Linked DNA regions of Homo sapiens: region 2 is linked to region 1. The links are contacts of gene promoters, found by promoter capture Hi-C in human tissues and cell types (Jung and others, 2019). All regions are on one chromosome and are shown on one strand. The core of a region is centred on a gene start or on the middle of the fragment in contact, and the rest is flanking DNA. Distances in the headings are between cores, read along the strand shown. Region 1 holds the start of MICALL1 (MICAL like 1). Region 2 overlaps GTPBP1 (GTP binding protein 1).

The links. The method cuts DNA at HindIII sites, captures the fragments that hold promoters and counts their contacts. A contact is called where the count stands out against the background at its distance.
Region 2: a fragment that was not itself captured here is called in contact with the fragment with the promoter of MICALL1 in region 1 in 1 of the 25 tissues and cell types used here (lymphoblastoid cells).

What each region holds. Positions count from the first base shown.
Region 1 is chr22:37,904,700-37,909,038 of GRCh38, forward strand. It overlaps MICALL1 (MICAL like 1), which reads left to right and starts at 1,598. Exons shown (of 16, transcript NM_033386.4): 1 at 1,598-1,869. The coding sequence starts at 1,724. RefSeq lists enhancers at 289-1,104, 1,105-1,920, 1,921-2,736, 2,737-3,550 and silencers at 1,211-1,930, 2,041-2,150. The HindIII fragment of the contact is 31,369 bases long and covers 1-4,339 here.
Region 2 is chr22:38,706,850-38,710,753 of GRCh38, forward strand. It overlaps GTPBP1 (GTP binding protein 1), which reads left to right. Exons shown (of 12, transcript NM_004286.5): 2 at 1,996-2,107. Among named protein-coding and RNA genes, the nearest start is that of GTPBP1, 2.9 kb to the left of the region's middle. The HindIII fragment of the contact is 3,166 bases long and covers 117-3,282 here.

The sequences.
Region 1 (4,339 bases), core at 348-2,847:
CTCTTCCTAGGTGGCCTGAGAGTCCATATACTGAGCCAAGATGGCGGCCTTCCAGTTGCAGGAGTGTTAGGCCAGCCCAGATTGGCAAGCTGGGTTCTCCAGGCCCTGGGCCAGTATTCTGGACTGGGACTCAGTGGACTTTGAAGAGGTAGAATTCCCTAAGTCGGCCTCTCTCCTTGATAATTTACCCAGAATGGCCCAGATGACAATCTGGGTACAAAATATTTCAGTCCATTTCATCATGTTTACCAAGTACCAGGAGTCAATAGAATTTATGAGTGATAACTAAAGGGTAAGGCACTTTACATCTTAATCCTCTCAGCCACCTTGTAAAGCAGGTATTATCTCCATTTTTAAGTCGTGGAAACTGAGGTCCAGGGAGGCACAAGATCACATGACTAAGGGAGTGGGGAAAGCCAGGATTGGAGATTGGGTTAATAGGGCTCCAAAATGCCTGATCTTTCCACTCCCCTGAGTGCTCAGGGGTGATGAAGATGACTAAGACCCTGTTCCTTCCCTTGGGAGGGAGCGAAATACCCACTCCAGCTAACTATTGCATGGGTCAGGGTGACATCACCACCTCTGCAGCAGATGGAGGCTGATTCATCTGTGGGAGAGTCAGGAGGGGCCTCTGCGGAAGGGTCGGCTGGCTGGAAGGGTTGGCTGGCTGGAAGGGTCGGTTGGCTGGCGGGGGTTTTGAAGACGGCAAAGATAGAGAATGAGCCTTGGGGAGGTTCCAGGGCCAGATACAAACTGCCTGTATGCCTCCCAGGCAGGGGCCTCCTTGGCCTAGGTCCTTCCCATAGGAACTCAAACCACCACCACACTAACCATGGCTGAGGGGACCCGGCAGGCCGCAGTGGGGAGGGACGAGATCCCTGAGCTTACACAGGGGCTGAGGGGAGCTCAGTGAATCACCTAGGGGACACCTGGACCAAAGGTGGCGGAGGGGCGCATGGGTCTCCCTGCCAAGCTATGGGGGAGGGGATGGTGGACATGACAACTTCCAGCTCAGCGGTGCTTTAGGGTGGGGAGCCGGGATGAGGGAAGCTGGTGGCTATCCGGGGGGGGGTGCTCTGAGGTCTGCAGGGGAACTGCCTCCCCAAAGTTTCAAGCTAGGGGTGGAAGGGGGGATTTGCGGTCATTAGGAGCGGGAAGGAGGCCGGATGGGAGCACGAGGTGTCCCGCCTCCAAAGGGTGGAGGGCTCCCGGTGGGTGGCGCGGCGGCGGCCGCGGCGGTGAAGTCATCGTGGGGAGTGGTCCGCTTGCGGCGGGTGCGGGGGCTTCGCGGGCACCCAGTGGAGCAGCGGGAGCCCGGCGCCGTCGAGGGGCGGGCGATGGGGCGCCGGCCCGTCTTGGTAGGGGTGGGCTCCGCACTGGAGGCGGAGCTGCTGCTGGGTGGGGCGCGCCTCCGGCGCGGACGGAGGCGGCGGGACGCCCGCTCCCACGACCGGCCCACAATGAGGCGAGCGGGCAGCGCGGAGTAGGCGGCGGCCGGCCGGGCCGGGCCACGCGGCGGCGCTGCTCGGGCAGGTTAGGGCAGGGCCGCGGGGCGCCCGAGCGAGGACACCGCGGCCCCGCCTCCGCCCCTCCCCTCGCCTGCCGGTCGGCGCCCGAGCTCGGAGCCGCAGCCGCAGCCGGAAACCGGGCCCGCGCGGCGGCCGCCGTCCCGGCCAAGCCGGGGCCCCGAAGCCAGAGCCGGAGCCGGGCGGGCCGCGGGGTCATGGCTGGGCCGCGGGGCGCGCTGCTGGCCTGGTGCCGCCGCCAGTGCGAGGGCTACCGCGGCGTGGAGATCCGCGACCTGAGCAGCTCCTTCCGGGACGGCCTGGCCTTCTGCGCCATCCTGCACCGGCACCGGCCCGACCTGCTGTGAGTGCGGGGCCCCGGGCGAGCGGGCGGCGCGGGGCGGGCTGGGGCCGCGACCGCCGCCCCCCCTCAGTAACACGAAGCCCGGGCGGTGACAGGCGCCGCCCCCGGACACGGAGACGCCGACCCCCCCGACGGCCCCGGACGCCGGGCGGGTCCCTGAGACCCCGGCCCAGGGCGCCCCTCCCCCGCCCGGCCGCCCTGACCCCGCCCGTGGGATCCCGAACTCTCCCCCGAGGCTGGTCCCTCCGCGGGGACACTGGCCCCGCCCACAAAGCGCTGATTTCCGCCGAGGATCGCTGAACCCCTAAGCCCTTGACCTCTTTGAAGGGGTGTTGAGCCCTCTTTGGGGGCCCTGGGCCTCTCCTACCCTAAACTCTTCTCCACGGGCTCGCCGGGCCTCCCCTCTCCCCCGAGGCTTCCCACTCGGGGTGGCCCCTTGCTCCGGGTGTGCAGGTGAACCCCCACTTCTCTGACCCCCAAATAGGAGCTTGTCTCCGGACAGTAGCACAGTTCCCGGCACAGAGGAGACCTCGGCTAACAGGTGTTGGATGAATGGATGTACAGACCCTGTGCTTTCCCCACGCCCCCCAACTTAGGACGCAGCCCTGCCTCCCGGGTGTGTGCTCGATGGCCCTGCAGCCCTCCTCAGTGGGGCACGCAGGTGGGGCGCGCAAGAGGAGTCACAGGCCGGCAATGTTGGGAAGACTCCTAGGATCCGATTGATAGACACCAACCGGGTGCTGCAGGTTGTGAAATGGCCCCTTCCTGCCCAGAGCTGCCCAATGAGGTTCTCATGGGAAAATGCATTCAGACTCCCCGGAACAGTTGACTTGGAGCCTCTGTCTTTGCTCTCTCTGCCTTGAGCCCTGGAACCTCTCCTCCTTTCGTCCCTTCATTCCTAAAACACTGGGTGAGTTTATCTGGTGCCATTCCTTGCACTTCAGGTCTCACCTGTGAATCAGGGAGGAGAGTTCTGGTCCCTACCCCTTTCGCATGCAGCCCTCTTGCCAGGGCTCCCCCAGCCTGGCAGATGGAGGCTTTCTGTGCCTGTTCCACCTCCAGATTTGCACTGTCCGAGGGCAGCATGTGGGAAGGCTTCTAAGGGATTGCCTCAGGATTCCATGATGCAGGTGCACCTGGTTTACCTGTATGTACCCTGCAGTACCGTGTCTGTGGGTGGTGGCTTGGGCCCTGGAGGAGAGGGTTTTGGGGCTGTGGATACAGAAGGGAACAAGATGAGGTGGTCATGTAGGTGGGCCCCTGCCCGCTGTGGGGCATGTGACACCCATACTAATGGAAGCACAAGGTTGATGCCTGGTTGCCCAGGAGCAGGGGGTAGAAGGATGGAGGAAAAGGGCACCAGGGTTAGACCTGGGCATTGGAAGGGAGGGCCCAAGGGGTCTTCTGTTTTGTTTGAGGGGCAGGAGTGAGGCAGGAAGCAGGGACAAACCCAGTGTGGGAGGGGACTTGGGTGTGAAGTGAAGCCATTTGGTGGGCCTGAGCCTGGTGGCATCAAAGTAAATAAAGGCCGCCTGGTTTGTGTTTAGCTTCTCCATGTCTTAGGCGCATGGCCTTGGGTCCTCATGGGCTCTCTCCAGGCATCAGTGTCCTCATCTGTGAGGTGGGATTGATAATGTGACACAGCTCACAGAAATGTGAGGATTGCATGAGATAACAAGCATTCATTTAACATTAGTTACTGTGAGTAACTAATGTTACTTTTTTTTTTTTTAATGTTTTTTATTTTTTTGAGATGGGGTCTCACTCTGTCACCCAGGCTGGAGTGCAGTGGCACAGTCATGGCTCACTGCAGCCCCCACCTCCCGGGCTCAAGCAATCCTCCCACCTCAACCTCCCTAGTAGCTGGGACCACAGGCACACGCCACCACGCCTGTCTAATTTGTTTGTATTTGTAGAGATGGGTTTTCACCATGTTGCCCAGGCTGGTCTTGAACTCTTGAGCTCAAGTAATCTGCCTACCTCAGCCTCCCAAAATGCTGGGATTACAGGCATGAGCCACCATGCCTGGCCCAATAACAATGTTTGATTTCTTCATTTATTCAACCAGTATTTGTAGAGTCATATTGCTCTGTGCTGGACACTGTACCTGGTAATGGAAGTACCAATCGACAAAACAGGCAACCCTACACGCTCTCCCACACCTGTAGGGGAAACGTGTATAAACGATGATGGCAATTCCATGTACCCTATCAGAGGGCTGGGGGTGGGAGACCTCCTAGGGAGAATATAGTCTTCAAGGAGATGGCAGGAGCCAGGTGAGGGCTGCTGGGTGGACGTTCTGGCATGGGACCCCATCTGAGCAAAGGCAAGGGGCGGGAGGTGTGTGCAAAGCTGGAGGCTGTGTAGCTGAGTGGGGAGCACAAGGTAGCGAGTTGGGAGATGCAGTTGGGACAGATGGCTGACAGCTGCTTTTGCTGGCTAAGGAGCATGGATAGGGGCCTCAGGGAAC
Region 2 (3,904 bases), core at 450-2,949, 800 kb after region 1:
CGAGAAGGTAGGCAGGAATTAAGGCCTCGCCAACGGCTTGACATTGTGAAGAATAGAAAAGTAAATACAAGATGTGACTGGTGTTTTGAAGGTGCTTAACGTTCCTTAGGGAAAGAATGCCAACTTGGGAGTCAGACAGGGCTGGGTTCCCTTTCCTGCCCTACCATCGAAAGGCTCTGTGACGTTGGGAAAGTTTCTTAACCTTTCAGTTCTCCAACCACCTCATCTTAAGAAAGTACAGATGGGTTGTAAAAATTAGAAATATTTAAGAAGACACCTAATAGTGCCTGATGCATACTAGAGACTCAGTAAATGTTTGAAGTGAACGAGATAGTTCCTAATTTCCTGTGCAGATTAAATAGCAGTGGGTGAAAGATAGAACACCAATACCACCACTTACATTTGTAGGATAGTTACGATAGACATTTTATCCAGCTTTGAAAATGTTTGTGACTTTTTATAGTTTATGGCGGCAAATTTGCATGAAACTTGGTCCTAAACTGGGGAGGAACTTTCCCTGCAACCTAAGCAAGTTATTTTCAACTGCTCTTTGCCATTGTAGTCTCAGGTGAGCACTTGGAAGCCAGCTAGCCTGTCAAAGTTGGTCCTGTCTTGTGCCTGTAAGGCCATAATGAGGATGGCCAAACTTAGAGAGAGGGATGGCCAGGACGATGTAAAAGACCCAGGAAACATCCAGGTTACAATTACAAGCTCTGATGAGTCAACTCAGGAAGTTACAAGATTATGGACCTGACTCAAGAGCAAACAAACTGGATGTCAACACATGGTCAAGGTGCTGAAGAAACATGATAGGAAATTGCAGGGCAGAGTTGCAAAGACGGTAGTACCTTCATTTCTTGACCAGCTCATTTAATATTCCTAGAAGTGTTATTTCATCACATAGCTGGGGAAGTCCTCCTTACAATTAAAAAAAATCATATGTATATTAATATCGATGATATCAAAAAGAAAAAGTGATGGTGTGGAGGGAGAGAAGGGTTGGGTTGAATAGATTGATTCCGGAGGAACAGATTAGAAGCGAAAGGTTCATGTCCTTACGATAGAAAATGTGGAGACCTAAGGCTCCGAGAGCTTCCAAAGGGAGAAACACTTAGTGAATAGTGGTGGCTAGTTTCATCCAACAAGGTTTTTCTGGGAATGATTGGGTGAAGAAAACCTTGTAGTTTCACATTTATTGAGCTGTGGACTAGATGCTTTACATGTTATTATATTTGCTCTTTACAGTGGCCTTAGGATGCAGGTAGTATTAGCTCCGTTTTATAGATTGAAAAACTGAAACTCAGAGTGGTTAAATTCTTTGTCCAAGGTCACACAGGAGTGGTTAGAGAATGGGGTCTGATTGCCAAATGGCTTACCCAAGTAAATGGTTGACACTTCAATGTTATTGGCAGACATTTGCAAAATGACGGTGCTAATACTCCTCGTAGTGGTAATGGTGATGGTGCTTTGTTGATGAAGATGAGTCTTGCAGGCAGTTTTCATTCCCAAATATTCAATATAGCTAAGACAAGATAGAACAGAATTCTTTTGTTATCCTGGAAGCCACTGGCCTGTGGGTGGAGGGCATGGAGGTATATGAGGTATATGTCTTGTGGGCTTCCAGATGCCAACTGCAGGTAGAAGACTTTGGCATGTAGATGGAAAGCACTGCGCTTTCTATCCACAGTGCCATATTCTCAGTCACTTGGGTCCTGCCCTTCCTGTTAAGCAGCAGGAGGCAGGCTGCTTGTGCCCTCTTTACCATGGGTTATGGCTCAGACATACACATTGTAGTATATTATTTGGCTCATATAAGGCCTGAGGCTCAAAGGCTACTTCAGGAGAAGCAGAGAGGGCATGAAGGGGCTGTGCAGCCTTTTTAGATGAGGGTGCTATGGGGTTCAGTCAGGATCTTTGGTTAGGCTATATTGATCAGCTTTGGCTGTGGTGCTCTTCTAGCAAGTGTGGTCCTAAGGCTGTTGGTTTCTTTTCTAGCTGGTTCTAGTGAGCCCTACATCAGAGCAGTATGACAGCCTACTTCGGCAGATGTGGGAGAGGATGGACGAGGGATGCGGAGAGACCATATATGTCATTGGGCAGGGATCAGGTGAGCATAGTTTTCCTTTCACTTTATTTTTAAAAATTATTGGGCCGGGTGCGGTGGCCCTGCCGCCTGTAATCCCAGCACTTTGGGAGGCCAAGACGGGTGGATCACCTGAGGTCAGGAGTTCGAGACCAGCCTGGCCAACATGGTGAAACCCCATCTCTACTAAAAATACAAAAAATTAGCCGGGCGCTAATTAGTGGTGGCAGGCGCCTGTAATCCCAGCTACTTGGGAGGCTGAGGCAGAAGAATTGCTTGAACCTGGGAGGCGGAGGTTGCAGTGAGCCAAGATCGTGCCATTGTGCTCCAGCCTAGGCGACAAGAGTGAAACTCTGTCTCAAAAAAAAAAAGAAATTATTTAGAGCACATTTTCCCCGCTTTTTGAACTTTTCTGCTTATGTGTCTCAGTTACAGTGATTCTTTAGTGTCTGCAGAACTGTTTGGAGTACATAAAAGTACAAAGTGAATGTTAATTCTGACCTTAGTGGCCATAATATGCTTGACTTTCCAAGCAGTTTTACAGATGCTTCCTTTTTACCTCCAGTACTCTCTATTTGCATAAGAGGAAATGAAGCACAAAGCAAAGGAACTTCTTGTCTAAGGTAATAGGGCAAGCCATAGTTAGGTCTAGAATTAAGCTTATTCCTGGGCAGCTGGAGGTCTTCCCTTCCAGGCCCTGTTTACAGATCCCATTGCGACTTATTTTCTGCTTAGCAGAGGACCTCCGTGATTCTTCTTGGTGTCAGCAGAGAAAAGATGCCCAGAATTCCTCTCTTGTCAGGCTCCTTGCCCCAGACCCTACTGACTATTTAGTCTGGATAGCTGGGATAACAGAGGTCGTCCTCTCTCCCCACTGGATCCTGTCAGACACATAGGCTTGTAACCATTCTGAAAGGGACTGGTTATTGTTCTCCAAGCTGCTTATTCCTTGTAACAGAACCTACTATTTTAGAGGAAGGCAGCCCTCACAACAATCCCAGAGTATATTATGGTTTCTTCCCCTGGTCACTCCTAGTTAGCAACTTCAATACAAGACCTGCTTACCTTCATCTTCATTATGGGATTATCTTTGCTGAAATGACAGCTGGGGTTGTTAACGATTATGAATTCAGCCCATACCAGCACTTGTCTCTGTCATCTTTGCAGGAAGCCCAGGTGGGCCTGGATGCATCATTAAAGAAACACTTTTCTTTGCTGAATGTAGGCTTTGTAAAGCCAGGTAATAATTCTTTTGTAGTTTGAGTTGAAGATTGAAGAAATCTCAAAATCATTCTTAAACTATTTTATACATATCTATTAAGTATCTTCTAAGGCCTGCCACTGTTGCAAAGCTCTTTTGGAAACTTAAAATCTGATCCCTGCCCCAAGGAGGAAAGATGGCATATACACAAATAACCTCCATGGGAAACAGTATTTGGAAATGTTGTAAGAGTGACATAAAGAAGAAGGATTTGCTCTCCAGATGCAGCTGTGCCTTCCTTTGAAATATCTTTCGTATCTGTTCTTTCCTTCCCATCCTTGCTGCTACCTCTCTAGTTGCGGGTCTTACCACCTAAAGGAAGGCATGGTCAGAGAGATAGGCAAACTAAGAGGTTGCGTATCAAGAAAGGGAGAGAGTTGATTAGCATTATCAAGTGCTACAGAGGCAGCAATGAATGCCAGGTTCAAAAAAAAAACATTCCATTTGTTGACTAGGAGATCATTGGTAGCCTTTTGAAGCTTTGATGTCAGGTACACATCTGGCCTGCTCTAATAAGATGAACCACTCAAAGATCACTTAATAATTGTAGAATTTCAGGA